Linked DNA regions of Homo sapiens: all the other regions are linked to region 5. The links are contacts of gene promoters, found by promoter capture Hi-C in blood cells and fetal thymus (Javierre and others, 2016). All regions are on one chromosome and are shown on one strand. Each heading gives the region's core, a stretch centred on a gene start or on the middle of the fragment in contact. The rest is flanking DNA. Distances are from core to core; before and after follow the strand shown.

Region 1 (2,700 bases), core at 70-2,569, 460 kb before region 5:
TTTAAAGACTTAGTCAATTTTTCCCATTAGCAGAAAATCAGCAACCCTGAGACTCCAACATTTCATGACATAAAAGCTAATAAACATCTAGAAGCTGATTAAGATTTATAAACTAATTTTACATCAGATAGAAAATAACTCTTATGATTTAAAAATACATGTAAGGAAACAAAATTTCTCAAATTTATTTTTCATGCCTAATTCTTAAACATTTCAACTAATATTTTCTATTGTCTGAAATTAGTTCCACACACAGATACACTTTAACTGAATGCTTTGAGTACAACTTGCTCTTGATTATTAAATGGAATGCCTACTTCCTTGTATTATTATTCATACATATTTAAAAGAAATGAGAAGTTTAATCCATCTGGACTATACAGAAATTTATTGACTTACAAGATAGTCACATAGACAGAGACCAGAAAAAAATGATCAAATGCTCATTCTTAGTAACACAACTGAGACAGTGAAACACGGTACACCATACATGTCATCTACTGATCCAACTATGCTATCTGATAAGCTATACTTACAAAGAATGGTTCCAACAAACACCTTTGTAGAACAAATATTCACACTGTGTTATCAAATTTGCTGCTCCTCCAGTGGCGGTTCAAGAGCTTCCATTAGCTTTTTATTTGCCTCTTCATTATGCCGGCTTTGACAATGAGTTAAATGTTTCTTAAAACCTCTTGGGAAATTTGATTCAAAATTACAACGTGGACATTTAAGTAAACTTTGCCCATGGGCTGCTACATGATTTTTAAGGAGAGATTCCAAAAGAAAAGCCTTTCCACAGATTGTGCATTTGTAAGGGCTATGAACATTATGCTTATTAACCAAATGATGCAAAACAGCACCTTTTTTCATAGCACGACAGCAACAAATTTTGCAATAATACTTTCCTTTTCCACGCTTCATGTATTTTGCAATCTCCTCTTCAGAGATAAAAGCTTCTTTTTCTTCAGTAAACTGTAGCACATTTCTAGACTGCTCTGGACTAGTCATGTCCATTTTGTTCTCTTTGCTAAAATCAATGGATTCCACATCAACCTGCTCTTGATCACTGCTTGATTCCTGGCCCTTAATATCCATCGCATCCAAATCTGTTTTTATGTACTCACTACTACTAAGCTCAGCGTCTGAGCTCTCTTGGTTGTCTTTCTTGAGCTTCTTTGAGGAAGGAAATAAAGTATCTTCTAAGAGTTTCTTAGGTGAAGCTAGAAGTTCTTCCTGAACCAAAATATCACATTTTTGATCATCTATGGCATCTATTTGTAGTTCATCACCAAGCTCAACAGCCTTCTGTGATTCTGAGAATAGAGCAGATTTGGGGAGTTCAGGGAAAAGGGCATGCTTCCGGGGCTCTGGAAAAAGGGCACGTTTGCGTGCTTCTGGAGAAGCAGGAGGGGCTGTTTTGGCAGGCTCGGGAAACAGGGCAGGTTTTCTAGGCTCAGTATCGATAGAGAGAACAGGCTTCCAGATATCTGAGGCTGCTTTGGGGGACTCAGATGGCCCAGAAGGACCTGGTTTTCGGGTCTCAGGGAAGACAGGTTTCTGAGGCTCAATAAAAAAGGAAGACTTCCAGAGATCAGGAGAACCACCACGGGAACTTTTCTGGGACTCAGGGAAATCAAGTGAAGCAGGAGAAGTTTTCCGCTGATCAGGAGAAAGCTTCCAAAGATCTGGTGACCCTGAGGGTTTTCTGAGCTCTGGAGATCCTGCTGGACTACGGATCTCTGGGGATAGTGGTGGGCCGGGTTTGCGAAGCTCTGGAGACACTGGGGGAACTGCCTTCCAATGTTCAGGAGACAACGTGGGAGCTGTCTTTCGGAGTTCTGGTGGGCCAGACTTCCATGACTCAGGAGATGCAGGGGGAGACTTCCAGGAGCTGGGTGAGACTGATGAAGATTTCCAGGATGCAGAAGACACAGATGGAGTTGGTTTCCAAGGTCCAGGAGATACAGAAGGAATTGGTTTCCAAGGTCCAGGAGACACAGATGGAGCAGGTTTAGCTGGCTTCCAAGGTCCTGATGATGCTGAAGGATTGGATTTCCAAGGCCTAGGGGACCCAGGTGGCCCTGGTTTCCAAGAGCCTGGTGACACAGCGGGGGCTGGTCTCCTAGGCTCTGGGGAGACAGCAGGGAACGGCTTCCAAGGTTCAGGAGACTCTGAAGGGGATGGCTTCCTTGGCTCAGGGGAGGTAGTCCGGGCTGACTTCCGAGATTCTGGAGATGCAGCTGGGGATGGTCCCCAAGGTTCTGGGGAAGCAGCTAGAACTGGTGACTCTGGAGATGAGGCTGAAGGTGGCCCCAATGTTTCCGGGAAATGAGACTGCTTCTGGGGTTTGGGATTACTAAGAGTAGCCTTTACTGACTCAGGAGATACAGGGGCAGGTTTCTGTGGTTCTGGAGAAGGAACAGGGGCAAGTTTCTGAGACTCACAAACAGGGACTGATTTTGGAGGTTCAGGAGAAGAAACAGAGGCAGGTTTTGAAGGCTCAGGAGAAGGAAGAGGTGTCTGTAGCTCAGGAGAAACAACAGAGCCAGGTTTCTGAGGCTCCAGGGGAGTAAGAGGAGTAGGTTTTGGCGATTCTGGAGACAAAACTGAACCAAGTTTCTGTGTTTCCATTGAAAGGGCAGGTATGGATTTTGGTTCTGCTGAATTGCAGGGTATTTTCTGGTGTTCAGGAAGAGG
Region 2 (2,700 bases), core at 118-2,617, 400 kb before region 5:
AAATACAAAAAAATTAGCCGGGCGTGGTGATGGGTGCCTGTAGTCCCAGCTACTCAGGAGGCTGAGGCAGGAGAATGGCATGAACCCCGGTGAGGGGGAGCTTGCAGTGAGCAGAGATCCTGCCACTGCACTCCACCCTGGGCGACAGAGCGAGACTCCGTCTCAAAAAAAAAAAAAGATTCAGTAATATTAATAAAATTTGAGATATATAGGGTTAGAACCCAACACATGCAGAGAAAAACTGTTTATACTGCCGTAGAGCAGGAAACGAAACCCAGGTTCTAAGGGGGCAGGGAAACTGTTTGCTAGGTGTGCCATGAGCTACCACACAAGTGCATCAGTGACTGGGCATAGAGCAGGCACAATTACAGGATGGTTAAGAGAGTGAGCTGTGGAGCCTATGGGAACATGCATTTTTAAACTGTGATGTGCCTCAGTTTATCCAACTTTACAATGGGTATTACTCATTTTTTGTTTTTCTTCTCAGTTGGCTAGATTAGTTCCCCAGTCTGTCTTCTCGCCACTCTGGATGTCCACATGAGAGGACCCAAGGTAATTTCTGACAGCCTCGGGCTCCTTGGGAAAACCAGAGGGTGCCACAGACCCCGTTTTAGGAGAAACCTCTGTTTTCCTCAGGGAACCCCAAGACACATAAGCAGACAGATCCCTCTCAAAATCTAAGGCTCTGCTCTGTTTTGTATCACATTACCTGATCTTTTTGACTTTGGGGGAAATTACATCAGAAATTACTTTAGTAGGGGCTGGGCGCAGTGGCTCATGCCTGTTATCCCAGCACTTTGAGAGGCCGAGGCAGGCAGATCACCTGAGGTCAGGAGTTCAAGACCAGTCTGGCCTGAACATGGAGAAGACCAGTCTCTACTAAAAATACATAATTAGCTAGGCGTGGTAGCACATGCCTGTAATCCAAGCTACTCAGGAGGCTGAGGTAGGAGAATAGCTTGAACCAGGGAGGCAGGGGTTGCGGTGGGCAGAGGTTGCGCCATTGCACTCCAGCCTGGGCAACAAGAGCGAAGCTCCATCTCAAAAAAAAAAAAAATTACTTTAGTAGGAACGGGAGTTAGCAAGCTTGCAACTTTCCTATCCTAGATCTCAATAACCTCACCACATCCTCCTTATCACATAATGTTTATAACTAAACGAGTGCCCAAGTACAGCAATTCCATCCAAACTTATACTATTACTTATTCACTGTTATGGAAATGTATGGCATCTCAACATTCTATTGAAATGTAAAGATTTATATTGTTATACCCTGCATTATAAAATAATGACAGAGCCTCTTCAATTGTTTATCAGAAAAATGTTGCTAAGATTTCTTTTCCCATTATAGAAACAGATGAGTCCTTCTATAACAAAGTGCTTTACACATATTCTATAGTGGTATTTTGCACTTAGCAAGTATTCAGCTTTAAACTGAACGCACCCTTGGTGAGTCACTAACTCCCCCACAGCATTGTTCTAATAAAATAAATGGAGTTTCTTGTTTTTAATGCAGCACGAATGGTTAGAAAGATGAACTTGGAACCTCAGACGAGAATATGAGAAACATAAACAGAGACATATGACAACCTAAAAAATGGAGTACAATACCAATAAGAATAACGATTATCTTACCAATATAAGCTTCAGAATCACCAATGTACATTTCGATGCAATGACCAAGCATTGTAACAGAAAATGTATCATCTCGCCTAAGACCAAGGGCCTGCCATAAAAGATTCAGCATGGTTATTAAAAGAAAACATATTTCCTTCTCTTACCACACTGATTCATTTCAAAATATTCCAGGGCATCCAGGGTGGGGGAAGTGGCCAGACATAGCTACATGACTGGCCATGAACCAAAGATTGTTGAAGTTGGTTATGGGTCATGGAGGTTCATCACACTATTCTATTTTCTTATGCTGGAAATCTACCCCAAAAAAGATTTTTTAAAAAGTTCTATCTCGACTGGGCGCAGTGGCTCATGCCTGTAATCCCAGCACTTTGGGAGGCCTAGACGGGTGGATCACCTGGGCTCAGGAGTTCGAGACCAGCCTGACCAAAACATGGTGAAACCCCGTCTCTAATAAAAAATACAAAAATTAGCCAGGCATGGTAGCAGGTGCCTGTAATCCTAGATACTCTGGAGGCTGAGGCAGGAAAACTGCTGGGAGGTGGAGGTTGCAGTGAGCCGAGATCGTACCACTGCACTCTAGCCTAGGCGACAAAGCAAAATACTATCTCAAAAGAAAAAAAAGAAGTTCTATCTCCATACAGAGTTCTCTGAGCCTTCTGTATTTTTTTCCTTTTTTTTTGAGACAGAGTCTCGCTCTGTCACCAGGCTGGAATGCAGTGGCGCGATCTCAGCTCACTGCAACCTCCGCCTCCCGGGTTCAAGCAAGTCTCCTACCTCAGCCTGGGACCGGGCGCAGGGCTAGTAGCTGGGACTACAGGCATGTGCTACCATGCCCAGCTAATTTTTCTATTTTTAGTAGAGACGGGGTTTCACCATATTGGTCAGGATGGTCTCGATCTCTTGACCTCATGATCTGCCCACCTCGGCCTCCCAATGTGCTGGGATTACAGGCGTGAGCCACCGCGCCCAGCTGAGCCTTCTGTATTAATCAGATCTCAGAAGAAAGGTAAATTATACAATACTCAAATATACATATTTAAAAGATCATACAGGACTAGAAAA
Region 3 (2,700 bases), core at 100-2,599, 360 kb before region 5:
CTCCCCTCCCCCTTTCCATCCCCCCTCCCTCCCCTCCCCCTTTCCCTCCCCCTCCTTCCCCTCCCCCTTTCCCTCCCCCTCCCTCCCCTCCCCCTTTCCCTCCCCCTCCCTCCCCTCCCCCTTTCCCTCCCCCTCCCTCCCCTTCCCCTCCCCCCTCCCCCCTCCCCTTCCTCCCCTCCCCTTTCCCCCCTCACTTCTCCTCCCCTCCCTAGCCCTTCCCCCTCCCCCTCCCTCCTCTGTCCTCCTCCTCCTCCTTCTGTCTCTTCCCCTCCTCTTCCACTATAGGACTACTTTTCTACCTTCTTTTCCCTTCTCCCTTCTTCTCTCCCTCCTTTATTTTCTTCCTTTCTATATTTAACACGTATTTCCTGTGTGCCCACCTCACACAGGATAGACAGGCTTCTGTCCTCACTGCTCCATCCATTATATTTATGATGGTTTTAAAGCATTTCAAAGTTCTATAGGTTTCAATTAATTTGATACCCAGAGTAACATGGGACAGACACATCTCTGGATCTGAAAATGCACCTGGTACTTGACTTTTCAGGTCATCAGAGCTTGTGGGTGGCTGGTTTTTACACTAAGGCTGCTGGCAGGATGCTCATTTGTCCACTGACTCTCTGAGCAAAGTCCAGAAGGGAAAAGAGCTGACATTATGGCTCTTCTGTGTAATGGCAAGATTTTGTCTACTTCTTGACTATGTGTAGCAATTTGTCAGTCTTTATAAACTGTTTGCTCTCTGGAAAGAGAGATTGAAAAGAGAACAATGTTCTCAGGACCAGACAGCAGCCTTTCTAGTTTTGTGATAGATCCTTTGACGTTCATTGCATTAGGGCCCATCAGGGAGGGCTGGCAGAGGCCAGGACTCCTACAGCACAACCCTTGTGGGGTGGAACAAGGTGGGGACACACAGGCAGGCACATTCGGAAAATGCTGCCAGAGTCAACCCTAAACTGCCACCTCGAAAAGGAGGTGCAAATTCGAGGCTTGCAAACCAAGGACACAAATCGCTATGGAGAGGCCATTTTTTCCATCAAGTTTAGCACAGACGTGGACTGTTAATGGAGGTCCTGTGCCCAGTTGCGCTTCACGACACAGGGGGGCGGGGCTGCCTGGAGAGGTCATGGCTGCAGTGGGCAGAGGCCCAGCTCCTCCCGGCCCGATGCCGGCATCTCAGGCTCCAGCACCACCTGCTGCACAGGAGAGGCTTCGGGAGGTCCACTCGGGGGATCAGCAGGAGACCCAGAATCCACATCCAGGCCTGTCTGACCCCACAGTCTGTGATTTTAAACACTGTCAATGGAAGGTCCACCCTGAGGAGCGGTGAGGAACCTGGGATTGCCGAATTCTGCATGGAGGAGCCGGAGGCAAGCTCTGCTATTCATGTCAAGTGTATTTTAAAGGGGCTTGTGCATAAAGGAATGAAATAAGGAATGAAATTAGCTGCTGCTTCTTTTTTTTTTTTTTTTTTTTTTTGGTAGAGACGGGGTCTCATCATGTGGCCCAGGCTGGTCTTGAATTCCTGGGCTCATGCGACCCTCCCACCTTGGCCTCCCAAACTGCTGGGAATGTAGGTGTGCGATACCATGCCCAGCCTGAAATTATCTTCTTATTTTCATTCAAACAAAACAAAACAAAAATTTAAATCTATAATATAGGTTAAAAATAGCAAAGAGTACTTTGGGAGGCCAAGGCAGACAGATCACCTGAGGTCAGGCATTCAAGACCAGCCTGGTCAACATGGTGAAACCCCGTCTCTACTAAAAATACAAAAATTAGCTGGGAGTGGTGGTGCATGTGCCTGTAATCCCATCCATCTCAAAAAATAAATAAATAAAATAAAAATAATAAATAAATAAATAGCAAAGAGTAGTTAGGGACCGTGACATTTCTGAGGGGCTAGCTATCAGCTCCATGAGGCTGAGACTACATATGCAGAGTTCTGTTGAATGAATGAAGGTGTGTGTGAGTCTTTTAACTCATTTTTAAAAGGCATTGCCCATGGGCTGATGTTCATTGTTGTGGAACAGCTTAGGCGGGATCTTACCTGGGGCTGATAGAGAACTAAGCAGATCCCAAGGGCTCTCAGACATACCCTTGATGTCTCCAACCGAGACTCTCTGGGTCCTTTTTTCTTTTCTTTTCTTTTCTTTTTTCTTTCTTTTTTTTTTTTTTTTTGAGATGGAGTCTTGCTCTGTCGCCCCGGTTGGAGTGCAGTGGCGCGTTCTCGGCTCACTGCAACCTCCATCTCCCAGGTTCAAGCGATTCTCCTGCCTCAGCCTTCTGAGTAGCTGGGATTACAGGTGCCCGCCACCATGCCTGGCTAACTTCTTTGTATTTTTAGTAGAGATGGGGTTTCACCATGTTGGTCAGGCTGGTCTCGAACTCCTCACCTTGTGATCCGCCCACCTCGGCCCCTCAAAGTGCTGGGATTACAGGCGTGAGCCATCGTGCCTGGCCCTCTGGGTCTTTTTTATATCTTAGGTTATGTATTCTGGAGTCAAGCTGTAGTTTCATCACGTTCAAAAATTTTAATCTGATTTATTTAGATATTTGTTAAAGGAACAATCACAGAGCTTTTAAGGTAAGTTAAAAATCCACCTAGGAATTATAGACAAATCCACCACAGCTCAAAATACAGTAACAGAATAAGTCTTCATAGCTAGAGAAAACAATCTAATTCAAACCCTCACCTCCTAA
Region 4 (2,700 bases), core at 201-2,700, 380 kb before region 5:
GGACTGGACTCATATATATCAGTGAATAATTGTATACAGTGAACACTGTATAATTAACCCACAAGGAATAAAGAGAACATATCACAAAACGTGGAAGACATAGGGGGTGATACCCTACTTCCTTGTATTTTAAGTTTTCTTTTATCCAAATGTTACCTGTTTCATGTAGAGCAGGGGTCCCAACCCCTGGGCCACAGACTGGTATCAGTCCCTGGCCTATTAGGAACCAGGCGGCACAGCAGGAGGTGAGTGGCAGGCAGGTGAGTAAAGCTTCATATGTCAAGAAAGAACTTGCCATTTGAAAAAAAAAAAAGCTTAATCTGTATTTACAGCCACTCCCCTTCACTTGCATTTCCGCCTGAGCTCTGCCTCCTGTCAGATCAGAGGCATTAGGTTCTCGTAAGTGCGCAAACCCTATTGTTAACTGCACATGTGAGGGATCTAGGTGGCGCACTCCTTACGAGAATCTAATGCCTGATGACCTGTCGCTGTCTCCCATCTCTCCCAGATGGGACCATCTAGTTGCAGGAAAACAAGCTCAGGGCTCCCACTGATTCTTCATTATAGTGAGTTGTATAATTATTTCATTATATGCTACAATGTAATAATAATAGAAAAAAGCACACGATAAATGTAATGCGCTTGAATCATCAAGAAACCAGTCCCCCCACCCTGGGAGGGGGGGCTTCTACAAAATGGTCCCTGGTGCCAAAAATGTTGGGGACCACTGATAAGAGTCCATCACTGAATTGCACGCTAGATCAAAGCAGCATAGCTCAAAATAACTTTTACAATACTAATCATCTTTCTATGTAGAAGTTCTTCTAAAATGCTGAACATACAACCAACCAGGGAACATTCTAGTTTCTTCCTAGTACAGGGTACTTTCGTGGCATCAGTCTTCCTAACAATCCTGCTATATGAGTATGACATCTCCCCCACCCCCACTCCCTTTTATTTTTTTTGAGACAGAGTCTCACTCTGTCGGCGAGGCTGGAGTGCAGTAGTGCAATCTCAGCTCACTACAACCTCCACCTCCTGGACTCAAACAATTCTCCTCCCTCAGCCTCCCAAGTAGCGGGGATTACAGGTGCATGCCACCATGTCCAGCTGATTTTTTTATTTTTAGTAGAGACAGACTTTCACCATGTTGGCCAGGCTGGTCTCGAACTCCTGACCTAAGGTAATCTGCCTGTCTCGGCCTCCCAAAGTGTTGGGATTACAGGCGTGAGCCACCACGCCTGGCTGACATCCCCATTTTTAAAGAAAGAGAGAGCAGGAGAAATTAACTTTCCCAAGGAATTTCAGTTGGTAAGTCACAGAACTTGGATTAGAATTCAAATTTGACTCCAAAGTTTATGCTGTTTCCGTTAGAGACCAATTCTGTTTTATTTGCACGGAAGAAACCACAGAAATTAGAACATTTACAGAGTTTAAGTAATTAATTCTTCACATACTTGACATTTTTCTAAACTTGAATAATACTGGTTAAATAGCTTCACTAGGCTGCATGGCTTTCCTTAAGTTAAAACCACAGCAAATCATTACATGAATCAGTTCACCCTGCTAAGAATTCTGTTTTATAGTCACATTTAGTGACCCCAATTTTACATAAAGTTTTGTGTAATTTCACAACTATTAATAAAAGAAATCCTAAAAGTAAAAGGTTAACAGGATCTCTGTAAGCGAAAGAGAGAAACTTTCAAACTACATTATTCTCTATTGTTTCATATTTATTCTCATTTATTAATTATTATTATTATTTTTTTGAGACAGAGTTTTGCTCTTGTCACCCAGACTGGAGTGCAATGGTGCGATATCAGCTCACTGCAACCTCCACTTTCCAGGTTCAAGCGATTCTCCTGTCTCAGCCTCCCGAGTAGCTGGGATGCAGATGCCCACTACTATATCTGGCTAATTTTTTGTATTTTTAGTAGACAGAGTTTCACCATGTTAGTCAGGCTGGTCTTGAACTCCTGACCTCAGGTGATCCACCTGCATTGACCTCCCAAAGTGCTGGCATAACAGGTGTGAGCCACCATGCCTGGCCATTTATTCTCATTAATAAATAAAATATGTAGGTTCCCTGAGAATAGGGTCTACATCACTGATTTTTTTTTTCTCTCTCTCCCCATGGCATCTTATAAAGAACAAACCACTTGAAGAAAACATTTATTCAGCCAGGCATGGTGGCTCATGCCTGTCATCTCAACACTTTCGGAGGCCGAAGCAAGAGGACTGCTTGAGGCCAGGAGTTCAAGACCAGCCTAGGCAACACAGTGAGATTCGTCTCTACTAAAAAAAAAAAAAAATGTTTAAATCAGCTAGGCATGGTGGTGCCTGTAGTCCCAGCTACTCGGGAGGCTGAGCAAGAGGATCATTTGAGTTTGAGGTGAGCTATTATTGCACCACTGCACTCTAGTCTGGGCAACAGAGTGAGAACCCTCGAGAGAGAGGGGAGGGGAGGTGAGAAGGAAAAGAAAAGGCAAGAAAGAAAGAGAGAAAGAAAAGAAAGGAAGAAAAAAAAAAACATTTATTCTTTCACATTGCTTTTAAAGTACTCACTAATTACTACTTGAAAGCTTATGAGCAAGACATCAATTCTACAGGTTAACTAGAGAGGAAAAAAATAAATTCATACCTGAGATATCTTCTGGCATGTTCATTTTTATGACCGACCATGAGATAGTAACATCCCAC
Region 5 (2,700 bases), core at 185-2,684:
AGCAGGAAAATTAATGTAATATTGTTTTGAAGTAGCCGTGGTGGTTTCGGGGCAGAAGCCCAGGGGTACTCCTTACTCCGCCTGCTCCAGTAACTAGCTGACATGGAAGTGCCTCGTCATTCTGGTTCAGACACAGGTGCAGATAGATGACTTCTCTATCCCACTTTAATTCTCCTTGAAGATCATTCCCAGGGACATTCATTTGCTTAAATTAACATGCTCGGCCAGGCGCGGTGGCTCACACCTGTAATCCCAGCACTTTGGGAGGCCCAGGCGGGCGGATCACGAGGTCAGGAGATTGAGATCATCCTGGCTAACACGGTGAAACCCCGTCTCTACTAAAAATAAAAAAAATCAGCCGGGCGTGGTGGCGGGCGCCTGTGGTCCCAGCTACTCGGGAGGCTGAGGCAGGAGAATGGCGTGAACCCGGGAGGCGGAGCTTGCAGTGAGCAGAGATCACGCCACTGCACCCCAGCCTGGGCAACATAGCGAGACTCCGTCTGAAAACAAACAAACAACAACAACAAAAATTCATGCTCATAATCCCACTTTCAAACCAGTGACCTCAAAGATTTCTAGCAGCAATCCTATTCCATTCTTCCAATTACAGAAAGCAAAGAGAAACTGGATCTGGGGATCTAAGCGTTGAGCCTGCTGAGCAGAACGGCCATTCATTTGGGGTGAGGTGCTGACTCACTGCCCCTCTACATTGCATTTTGGGGTGTGGGGATTTCCAGAGCAGGATTCTCCAGAGAGGAGTATCCAAGCTCCCTCCTCCCGCAGCAGGGGGATGCTGGGCTAACTGCCTGGTTCGGTCCCCCGTGAGTGGTCTGCTGTGTTTTGGTTCTGTTTGTTTGTGTGTGTTTTGCCTATGACTTTGCGAAATATTCCAAGACAAGAGCCAGAAAGTCTTGGTCTCTGAAGACAAGCACAATGTTGCTTTCAGCTTAAATATCTACTGGGAAACCTCAAGATTTTTAATGTCATCATTATGAAAAACAGAGATTATAAAAGGAAACCGTCGCATTTCACTCGCTGGCCCCCAGTGGGATTGGATCTGACCTCAGTGTATCTTTTCTTTGGTAGGTTTTAAGTCTTGACAAAATGTGCCTAAGAATGAAGACTCCAAAAAGGATGCAGTAGATTCGGGGGGAGTGGGGGTTGGAAAGAGGCTTAAATCTTCACATGACACCTGGAATATGGTCAAAATGTACCTGCTCAAGTTGAACCAGGTATTGCGTCCTCCTTTTACCCCATCGCTAGTGAAGACAACCACCGCCTGGGGAGACGCTCCTTTTCCGAAACACTCGAGTCCCGCCGCGTCCCGGACGCTCCGCTTTCCCCGCGCCCGGATCCTCCCGGGAACCCGCGCCCCGCCCGCGCGCTGGTCCCGCCCCCGCCGCCTCCCCGCGCGCAGCCGCCCGAACACGCCCAGACCGAGCGCTTGAGGTGCCGCAGCCGCCGCCGCCGCCGCCGCCGCGATGTGACCTTCAGGGCCGCCAGGACGGGATGACCGGAGCCTCCGCCCCGCGGCGCCCGCGGCTCGCCTCGGCCTCCCGGGCGCTCTGACCGCGCGTCCCCGGCCCGCCATGGCCCCTTCGCTCTCGCCCGGGCCCGCCGCCCTGCGCCGCGCGCCGCAGCTGCTGCTGCTGCTGCTGGCCGCGGAGTGCGCGCTTGGTGAGTCCCGCGGGCCCGAGACCCCGTCCCCGGGCGGCGGGAGGAGGCTCCGGGCGCGGCTTGACGCGTCCCCCTCTCTCCCTCCGGGCAGCCGCGCTGTTGCCGGCGCGCGAGGCCACGCAGTTCCTGCGGCCCAGGCAGCGCCGCGCCTTTCAGGTCTTCGAGGAGGCCAAGCAGGGCCACCTGGAGAGGGAGTGCGTGGAGGAGCTGTGCAGCCGCGAGGAGGCGCGGGAGGTGTTCGAGAACGACCCCGAGACGGTGAGCAGCCGGCGGGCGGGATGCGGGGGAACCCCTGGCGCCCGCGCGCCTCCAACCGCTCCCGAGAGGCAGCGCTGCTGCCGCCCCCCAGCTCCGCGCGGCGAGGCCTGGCCTCAGGGTCCCAGGAGCCCCGGCCCGCCCCGCGTCCCCCACGCCCATCCCCCGGCGACCCCGGGATCCCCGCGCAGGCCGGTGAGACGCTGCGGGGCTGTCCGGGAAACGCTCGCTGTCAGACGCCTCCCCGCGGGGAAGCCGGGAGTCCGTTTCCAAAGTGCGAGAGAAACACAATGGTTAAAACCCAAACCGCTTCCCCGCGGCCCTCCCTCTGCTGGGCTGGAGGTGAGGAACCCCCGGGCCGCGCCTCGTCCTCCTGAGAGGGGTGGAGAGCAGTCCCCTCCCGAAAGAGGAATTGAAAGGGCCGAGGGCGGGAACTGCTTGCGGCAGCAGGTCCAAAAATAAGATTCCAGGAATCGAGCGGGGCCGCATGCGGGAGGGGAGGGCGGCTCCGCGGCCCCGTTCTGCCAGGTGCTCTCCTGGAGGCAGCGGGTGCTTTCAGGAGCCCGACGGTGCTGGCCCCGGCACCTCGGTTAGGAATGTCCTTGGAGAAGGCGGGGCGCCCGGGGCCGCCTCCCGCAGGAGCCGCCGTGTGAGGACGGCCTGGCCACTCTATCCTGCGGGCTCGGGAGCGGGTGACTTTGGAAAGTCCGAGAAGGTGTGGATTCCCGTTGACGTCCCTCCCGCCCTGAAGTCAGGGTGATTTCATAG

Evidence for each region. The method cuts DNA at HindIII sites, captures the fragments that hold promoters and counts their contacts. A CHiCAGO score of 5 or more calls a contact.
Region 1: a contact is called between a fragment that was not itself captured here and the fragment with the promoter of GAS6 in region 5, in 2 of 17 cell types (total CD8 T cells and naive CD4 T cells). The highest score is 6.2, in total CD8 T cells.
Region 2: a contact is called between a fragment that was not itself captured here and the fragment with the promoter of GAS6 in region 5, in 2 of 17 cell types (naive CD4 T cells and naive CD8 T cells). The highest score is 5.9, in naive CD4 T cells.
Region 3: a contact is called between a fragment that was not itself captured here and the fragment with the promoter of GAS6 in region 5, in 2 of 17 cell types (activated CD4 T cells and endothelial precursors). The highest score is 5.2, in activated CD4 T cells.
Region 4: a fragment that was not itself captured here is called in contact with the fragment with the promoter of GAS6 in region 5 in 1 of 17 cell types (naive CD4 T cells); the score reaches 5.0 in naive CD4 T cells.

The regions. Positions count from the first base shown.
Region 1 is chr13:114,324,170-114,326,869 of GRCh38, reverse strand. It overlaps CHAMP1 (chromosome alignment maintaining phosphoprotein 1), which reads right to left. Exons shown (of 3, transcript NM_032436.4): 3 at 1-2,700. The coding sequence ends at 589. Among named protein-coding and RNA genes, the nearest start is that of LINC01054, 8.4 kb to the left of the region's middle. The HindIII fragment of the contact is 721 bases long and covers 959-1,679 here.
Region 2 is chr13:114,264,176-114,266,875 of GRCh38, reverse strand. CDC16 (cell division cycle 16) reads right to left here. Exons shown (of 18, transcript NM_001078645.3): 17 at 1,636-1,726. The region is part of intron 2 of LOC105370384 (a long non-coding RNA gene); the gene reads left to right. Among named protein-coding and RNA genes, the nearest start is that of MIR4502, 8.3 kb to the left of the region's middle. The HindIII fragment of the contact is 558 bases long and covers 1,089-1,646 here.
Region 3 is chr13:114,222,894-114,225,593 of GRCh38, reverse strand. It overlaps CFAP97D2 (CFAP97 domain containing 2), which reads right to left. Exons shown (of 4, transcript NM_001395229.1): 4 at 2,509-2,700. Among named protein-coding and RNA genes, the nearest start is that of CDC16, 11 kb to the left of the region's middle. The HindIII fragment of the contact is 7,731 bases long and covers 1-2,700 here.
Region 4 is chr13:114,246,946-114,249,645 of GRCh38, reverse strand. CDC16 (cell division cycle 16) reads right to left here. Exons shown (of 18, transcript NM_001078645.3): 11 at 2,642-2,700. Among named protein-coding and RNA genes, the nearest start is that of MIR548AR, 3.8 kb to the right of the region's middle. The HindIII fragment of the contact is 2,268 bases long and covers 317-2,584 here.
Region 5 is chr13:113,862,810-113,865,509 of GRCh38, reverse strand. It overlaps GAS6 (growth arrest specific 6), which reads left to right and starts at 1,434. Exons shown (of 15, transcript NM_000820.4): 1 at 1,434-1,677; 2 at 1,769-1,935. The coding sequence starts at 1,590. It overlaps GAS6-DT (GAS6 divergent transcript), which reads right to left and starts at 1,333. Exons shown (of 2, transcript NR_044993.1): 1 at 1,215-1,333; 2 at 1-500. RefSeq lists silencers at 1,741-1,800, 1,821-1,880, 2,361-2,410 and an enhancer at 1,429-2,020. The HindIII fragment of the contact is 18,327 bases long and covers 1-2,700 here.